Linked DNA regions of Homo sapiens: region 1 is linked to region 2. Evidence: promoter capture Hi-C in 16 types of primary human blood cells and fetal thymus (Javierre and others, 2016). All regions are on one chromosome and are shown on one strand. The core of a region is centred on a gene start or on the middle of the fragment in contact, and the rest is flanking DNA. Distances in the headings are between cores, read along the strand shown. Region 1 holds the start of EIF1 (eukaryotic translation initiation factor 1). Region 2 overlaps LOC105371777 (a long non-coding RNA gene).

Region 1 (3,718 bases), core at 366-2,865, 830 kb before region 2:
GAAATTCATTTTTAAAAACTCATGTCCTTACAAATACAGGAACAACCCAGCATTTGGCTTATTTTACAATGCATCTATATGCTATTCAAATTTGCATCTGTGAAGTAGATCCACAGAAACAGTAAACCAAAGGTAGACAAGTCCCTTCTGCTTTTTCCTATAAAACAGAAATAAGTCTATGTACTTTAAAACCCAACTGAGGTTTTGCTCAGCCTTACAAAGCCAACTTTTATGTCCCCAGCAGAAGCTAACAGACAGGATCTGAGATTTGCCAGCAGAGAGGCACAAATCAAGTAGTGACTGAACTCACCTCTACGAGGAACTGGCATATGTTCTTGCGTTGGTCACCCTGTAGCTGAATTACTTCTCCATATTCCGGATGCTCAATTACAGTACCATTGCAGGCAAACTTCTGCAAGCACAAAGGAAAACGAATTAGGCCTAGCAAGAGCATGAACGCATTTATCACCCCTTCCGCTAACAATACATACAACACAGCTGGCACCCCCTTGTGGACAAATCCATTATGACTTTCCCAAAATCTCACTGAAGACCTACTTTCTTAAACGCCTTCACTAGTTTCTTTTTATCGTAATCATCAGCGATCCCTTGGACAGTAGTAAGGGTCTTCCTGCCGTTTCTCTGTTGAATTCTTATATGGATATAATCCTCAGTGCCAGCAGGAAGCAGGTCATCACCCTTACTTGCATCAGCAAAGGGGTCTGAAAAAAAAGGTTAAGCTCGTTCAGAGCTGTCAAAGATAGGATGCCACTGCCATCCCCTCGGTCCCCAGGTGTTTTGCGCGTGCAGAAAACAACACTGAAATCGTCAGGGCTTGGGCCAGGCCGAATGTGTCCTTTGCTGGCTCTCCCCGAGCAGGTCAGTCCGGGACGGCCAGCTTCCCCAGGCTCGGGGAACGCCCGGGCCTCCCGCCCTCCCTGGGAAGCCGATCACATGTCGGGGGAGTCCGGGCTGCCAGGCGGTGCCCCACCCAGCTGATGCAACCCGCCGGAACCCGAGCTCCCGAGGCGGGGCTAAGCCTCCCACCCCCATTGGTGCACCCGCTTGCCACTTAGGGCTGGCACCGCCTTTCCCTCCGGATCCGTGACAACGGGTGGTGACGTAACGGACGTGACGCAATGGTGACGGGAGGGGCGGGTGTGGCCCGAGGAGGCCCAGGAGCCATTAGTAAATGCGCCACTGAGACGCCGGGCCCGCCCAAGGGCTGACCTACCGCCTGCTCCTTCCGGTCGCGCTCAGGGTCCGACCCCGGGGCCCAGGCCTTGATCCCGCTGCCCTGCGACCCTGGTCAAGTTTCCCCTGCCCGAGCTTACGAAGGCCCGGAGCGCTTGGCAACTTCCCGGAACACGTCTCCGGGCCCGGAAGGCCCCGCTGCCCCACCCGGGCCCGCGACCTTTCCCATAGCTTACCGAAAGAGTGGAGGTTCTGGATAGCGGACATACGATACGATTCCTTTTCCTCGGTGGAAACGGCCTGCGGAAGGCGGCGGCGGCGGTGGCGGGAGAAGGCGGGCAGGGGGGAACGGAACGTCGGGAAGCGAGGGGGCTCAAGGGGGAGGCTGCTGAATCCTCGGCGGCGGCTCAGTGACTGGGGCAGAGGGGCGGTGCCTGTGTTTAGTTATATAGCCGCGCCTCTGACGCCAGCGCGCTGCCCTCACGTCCTGACCCCACCCACAGCGTCGTGCCCCAAGCGCCCAGGCGGCGCCGCTTCCAATTGGTTTGGAGGCGGGGACATGGGATGGCGCTTGCGCAGGAAGTCTGCGGCAGGAGGGCGTCCTCTTGACTCTAGGAGAGCTGGGAGGGGGAGGGAAAGCTTGATCTGTCTCGGAGCCTGCGCAGTGCGAGTGGACGGTGTCTGGGTGCCGAGAATACCGGCCCAGGTTTCGAGCGCGCCTACGCACTGTGTCCTTTGGTACGTTCCACCTTCTTGACCCTGTTGCATCCCTGTCTTCTCGAAAAGGGGAGTTTCATATGGTAAATGAACACTCCTTAGAGAGGATTTAGATGATGAGCCTCCCAAACACGAGAAATCCCCGTTGTGTCAAACCCACCTACCTACCCACCCTACTACCCACGGAGTCACAGCGGGATTTAGGGCGGCACTTTGATTAATCAACATACAATAATATAATCAAAACGGTAACCGCATAATTTAGATTGCCATTTAGATTTATTCTAAAGTGGGTTAATCCGATCTAAAATTTTCATTTAGATTAGATTAATCCATCTAAGGAAAAAGTGTGCCCAGCTCATTGGCATGAGTTCAAGGTATAGTAACTGGTTCTGGGCCCCCCCGAGAATAATTCTGGCACCAGAGGGCGTCCTTCATGTGGCACAGCTTGTGTGGAGTAGAGCCTTCCTAGAGTTTAGATGAAATATTTCCTTCAAAACAGTCAACCTTTCTTGCTTTCAGTTTATTTATTTCAACACTCAGTTGTAGGGGTAAGTAGAGTGGTGAAAAGAGACCAGGAATTTTAGACTCAAAGGCCTCCGGGGATAGGCAGGTAAGTAGGATCAAGGAGTGCAAACAGCCAAGTGTGATGTAATGGGGTGGACTGGGGGCTGGAGTAAGAACTACGGGCTGCAGTGGCCGCTCACCTCCAGCCCATTGTGCTAGATCTTTTTCAAGAGTGCCAGGAAATCCAGGTGTTTACATAAAATCTCTTGATTTTTAAATATTGCCAATAAATTGATTTTTTTTTTGAGACAGAGTCTCACTTTGTCGCCGAGGCTGGAGTGCAGTGGCACTGTGTCGGCTCACTGTAACCTCCGTCTCCTGGGTTCAAGCAATTCTTCTGCCTCAGCCTCCCGAGTAGTTGGGGTTACAGGCATCCACCACCACGCCCGGCTAGTTTTTTAAAAATATTTTTAGTAGAGATGGGTTTTCACCATGTTGGCCAGGCTGGTCTTGAACTCCTGACCTCAGGTGATCTGCCTGCCTCGGCCTTCCAAAGTGCTGGGATTACAGGAATAAATTGAATTTTTGATACAACACTGCAAGCCAAACAAAAATATGCATGCCCATGGACTGCTGGTTTATGTCCCTGACAGTCAGGGTCACTGCCCTTGTGGAGTTGAAGGCCAGCGGGAGAGAGAGCCACTAAACAAATAATAAGATAATGAGGCTGGGCGCTGTGGCTTATGCCTGTAATCCCAGCACTTTGGGAGGCTGAGGTGGGCGGATCACCCGAGGTCAGGAGTTCGAGACCAGCCTGGCCAATATGGTGAAACCCTGTCTCTACTAAAAATACAAAAATTAGCTGGGCGTGGTGGCGTGTGCCTGTAGTCCCAGCTACTCGGGAGGCCGAGGCACAATAATTATTTGAACCCGGGAAGAGGAGACTGCAGTGAGCCAAGATGGCGCCATTGCACTCCAGCCTGGGCGACAGAGCAAGACTATGTCTCAAAAAAAAAAAAAAAAGGATAATGACAGATTGTGAGAGGTGCCAAAAAGGAGGTAAACAGGGTGATGTGAAAGGGCCAGGCTCCTTCAGATGGGGTGGTCAGAGAAGGCCTCTGGGGAGGCAGCATTCTGGCTGACAGAGGGTAGGAAGGAGTCCACTGTGGGGCAGGGCATGTGCCCACCAGAAAACTCAGAAAAACTCTGAGGGAGGAAATGCTAGGTGTACCTGATATATATATGTGTATGTGTGTGTATATATATATATATGTATATGAGTGTGTGTATATATGTGTGT
Region 2 (4,150 bases), core at 109-2,608:
TCAAATTCCTGGGCTCAAGTGATCCTCCCACCTCAGACTACTGCCATTTTAGTCAAATGTCAGATGCCTGATGAAAGGTGCAAACCACGGTGCCTGTCTAAAATGCTAATATTAATGTAGCTGCTCAAATTGAAGGGGAGGATTCTACAACTAAATACAGAGTATATAAAATAAATTAAGAAAAACTGGGGCTGGGAGCAGTGGCTCACGCCTATAATCCCAGAACTTTGGGAGGCCGAAGCGGGCAGATCATGAGGTCAGGAGATTGAGACCATCCTGGCTAACACAGAGAAACCCTGTCTCTACTAAAAATACAGAAAATTATCCGGGCGTGGTGGCGGGCACCTGTAGTCCCAGCTACTTGGGAGGCTGAGGCGGGAGAATGGTGTGAACCCGGGAGGCAGAGCTTGCAGTGAGCTGAGATCGCACCACTGCATTCCAGCCTGGGCGACAGAGTGAGACTCCGTCTCAAAAAAAGCTTAGCATTCTTGGGAATTGTCATGCATGATTTTAGGGTTTATTTCTTAAATTAGCATAATATAGCAGAATTATAAATAAATGCAATGCTTTACACACATGCAATAAATTGTTTGCAAAACTCAGAATAGATATTTTAACTTTATAGACTGTAAAAACATGAGCATCAAGCTTTTTCAGGAAAAAAATTCTGCATACTACTCTTCTTTAGAATTAAATTCATTGCGAATTCTAGTTGCTAAAATATGTCATTGTTTTTTCACTATGTACATATTCTTAATGAAATGCAACTCTTCTTCAAAATGATGGAACAAATACGCAATTTAGAAGCAGACCTGTAAATAAATCACACTGATAAAACAGTCCACAGACAGCAGTGGGCTCTAATAGAAGCCATTTAGATGGTATTTCAGGCTTTCTCAGTGAGTCATTATCTTACTCAGAACAAGTTACTCAACTTGAGATGACTCACTTTGTACAAAAAGACAACAATAATATCACATATAATCACATTAGCCCGGCATTTTGAAATCTTTAAAAACACCGTAAACACACGACGCTATGACCTTGGTTGGTAAGAATATGGTCATTTTAGTTACTGACTTGCACTTATTGATCTCCTGAAGTTATACATACACTACTAAGTTTCTGCTAAGTGTACTCATTTTGAAATATTTCATTTATTTGCAAGTAACATGGGATTTTAAAGAAATCACGTCAGGCTGCAATTTCACGTTTCAAATAAACAGAGCAACAAGTATAACTTTTTTGACAAGTTGCAGTGTAATTTTTATTTTTTATTATTATACTTTAAGTTCTGAGATACATGTGCAGAACGTGCAGATTTGTAACATAGGCATACACGTGCCATGGTGGTTTGCTGCACCCATCAACCCATCATCTACATTAGGTATTTCTCCTTAATGTTATCCCTCCCCTAGTCCCTCACTCCCCGACAGGCCCCGGTGTGTGATGCTCCCCTCCCTGTGTCCACATGTTCTCATTGTTCAACTTCCATTTATGAGTGAGAACATGTGGTGTTTGGTTTTCTCCGCTGGCTTATTTATGTATACAAGTGGGGCATCACATATGCATTTATTTGTGTATTCATTCTGTAGCTGTAATAGGTTCATTGCCTGGATGTTCACAGCAAGTCAATACCCAGAGGCACCAGGTTGCAACAGAGACAGAGGTTTAATGGTAAGGCCAACAAATGAGGAGAAAAGAGAAAACCCCAAATCCATCTTCCCGGGGACTCTGGGGCGAGGGTTTTTAAGAGTTTTGGAGTGAGCCAAAGCATAGAGATTGTTGATTAGTTGAAGAGTACAGGGTGAAGTCCCAGGACAGGGAGAGAAAGAAACTGTACTCTCATGCTCATTTGGTTTGTCTGTGGGAGTCTTTAAATTGGTTGGCGTTAGCAGTTCCACAGTAATTCAGGATCCGTTTAAGCAATTCTTAAACAAAAGCCTCATGGTTCTAACATTAGAATTTCTATCTACAGGAACAATGGGGATGCAAATGGTCAGAATCTAAGGTTATGTGATGTTTAGTTACAAGGAAGTGGGTCAAAGTGCAGCCTGGTTAAAGCTTAATTATAACTACATTTCTGCCCAGAATTCTTAATTCTGTGAGGATGGCTTCAATTCCTTCAACAAGCTTTTATTTAGCACCAACTATATGTAAGACTCTACATAGTCTATTGAAAATAACCTCAGTTTTTATGATCTAAAGGCAAATACATGATAAAGTTTCATACAGTTTTTACATTGTATATTACAATTTACATTGGATAAAAAGTACCTCCCAAGGTGCTTTACGGTGTTTTCACTGGATACCCATTTTAAACAGCCTTATGTGCTGATTCTGGATGATAATTTTAATGTTAAACTTCCCTAGCCTATCTAATATATGACTGAGTAGGCTGACAAATAATAAAATAAATGTTTATCATTTAAAAAATACAAATATATATAATCAGCATCCAATAGAGATAATCCTGGAACAAAAATTAGTACTACAGAATTAGATCCAGGCTAATCAGAATCCAGCAGTGGTGTTATAGGAAAGCACAACAATGAAGTCCTTCTCAGTGTTATTACTCAGAGGCTAGGGGTAAGAAAAAGTCCTTCAGGTGATGTGAAGTTAGGAGAATTTTACTCAGTTCCCCTGTGTGACTATGGAAGGTGTTTTTACAGCTTGCAGAGCTGAAGGAGATAGAACTGAACGCTGGCCAGTGGGAAGACAAGAACTGCTCAAGGGAAAGGAAGGTCTCAGTAGGGAGGAGAACCTGATGAAAGTTTTAGTCATCATTATCATGATTATCTGTCACCTCCAGGGTACACAGGTAACAGTTGCATTAAAGAGGAGATCATTTCTGAGGAGCTAAAGGACAATATAATATTATAACACCAAAGACACAAAGCTGAAGTAGCAGGTTACACAATTATTTGCCAATTTGTCCACAGGGAGACTTTTTAGCTGCACTTTCCAAAGCATTGGCACTCTGAAAACTTAATCATATAAAACTACATTCCCAACATGTAGAATATGTATCATAAAACACTTGCTATACACATATATCCAAACATCTTATGTCCTTATGATAATTTATCTCTGAACTAAAAATCTATTTAGGATCACTATGGATCATTTAAATTATGTTTCATTTTGTCAGAAAAAAAAATCAAATAATAAAGCATTATTTTAACTGGCTTTTACCTTTCAGTTAAATTGAACTTTAACTAAACAATCAAAGAAAAATTATTCCTCTATCAATGTTGATCTAAAAATCTTTCAATTGTAGCTTTTTAACTAGGTCAAGCTCCAAGTCTCCTGACCCTAGATTTATTTATTCATTCATTCAACAGATACCTATACATATCCTGGCCATATCTGGTATTTTGCCTCCTCATCCAAGCCACTATTTATGTCTCTCTCCTGGCTGACCACACAGCTTCCACCTGTACCCACCTCTCTTCCACTCTTTCCACCAGAGCTGGGGGGATCATTTTGAAAAAGCTGATCCAGTCACTCCATTGCTTAAAGGCCTTCAAAGGCTTCCTATTGTCCTTGGAATAAAGACCAAAACCCAGCAAGGTATGGCCTGGCCTGGCCCCCTCTACCCTCTTTCAAATCGTGTGCCCTCTCTCCCCCTCTATCTTCTCCAAACCTACTGGTCTTGTTTACTTTATTTTTGTATATATTTAAGATATACAGCATATGAGGTTTTGATATACATATACTGAGTGACAGCAATACTACAGTCAAGTAAATTCTAACGCCATGCTCCTTCCCACTCTGGCAGCTTCTCACAAACTTTCCCTCTTTACCTAGAATGAGCCTCCACCCCCATTTTGGCCTAGTTAACAATCCTAGTCACCAGTTAGGTCCTAACTCAAATGCCCCTCATTAACCAAGTCAGGTTCTCCTATTCTACCTTCTCATACTATACTGTAGTTATCCTTCACAGCTCTTAGCGCAATTTGCAATTATACATTTATTTGTATGAATATTGAAATAATGTCTGGCTCTACCACTGCATTCTCTCTAAGGGCAGCGGCCATGTCTGTTTTGCCCTCCACTGTAGCCCTGGCATCTAGCACAGTGCATAAAACAGCACATATACCCTACTGCATAGGAGACAATCAATACTTGTTGAATACCTGTGCACAGA

What was found. Contacts are between HindIII fragments. The CHiCAGO score rates a contact against its expected background, and 5 or more counts as called.
Region 1: a contact is called between the fragment with the promoter of EIF1 here and a fragment that was not itself captured in region 2, in 3 of 17 cell types (total CD4 T cells, non-activated CD4 T cells and naive CD4 T cells). The highest score is 5.5, in total CD4 T cells.

What each region holds. Positions count from the first base shown.
Region 1 is chr17:41,686,782-41,690,499 of GRCh38, reverse strand. It overlaps EIF1 (eukaryotic translation initiation factor 1), which reads right to left and starts at 1,615. Exons shown (of 4, transcript NM_005801.4): 1 at 1,431-1,615; 2 at 559-722; 3 at 311-412. The coding sequence starts at 1,461. RefSeq lists enhancers at 97-1,005, 931-1,020, 1,006-1,914 and a silencer at 1,401-1,790. The HindIII fragment of the contact is 2,180 bases long and covers 1-1,835 here.
Region 2 is chr17:40,851,182-40,855,331 of GRCh38, reverse strand. The region is part of intron 1 of LOC105371777 (a long non-coding RNA gene); the gene reads right to left. Among named protein-coding and RNA genes, the nearest start is that of KRT12, 14 kb to the left of the region's middle. The HindIII fragment of the contact is 1,416 bases long and covers 651-2,066 here.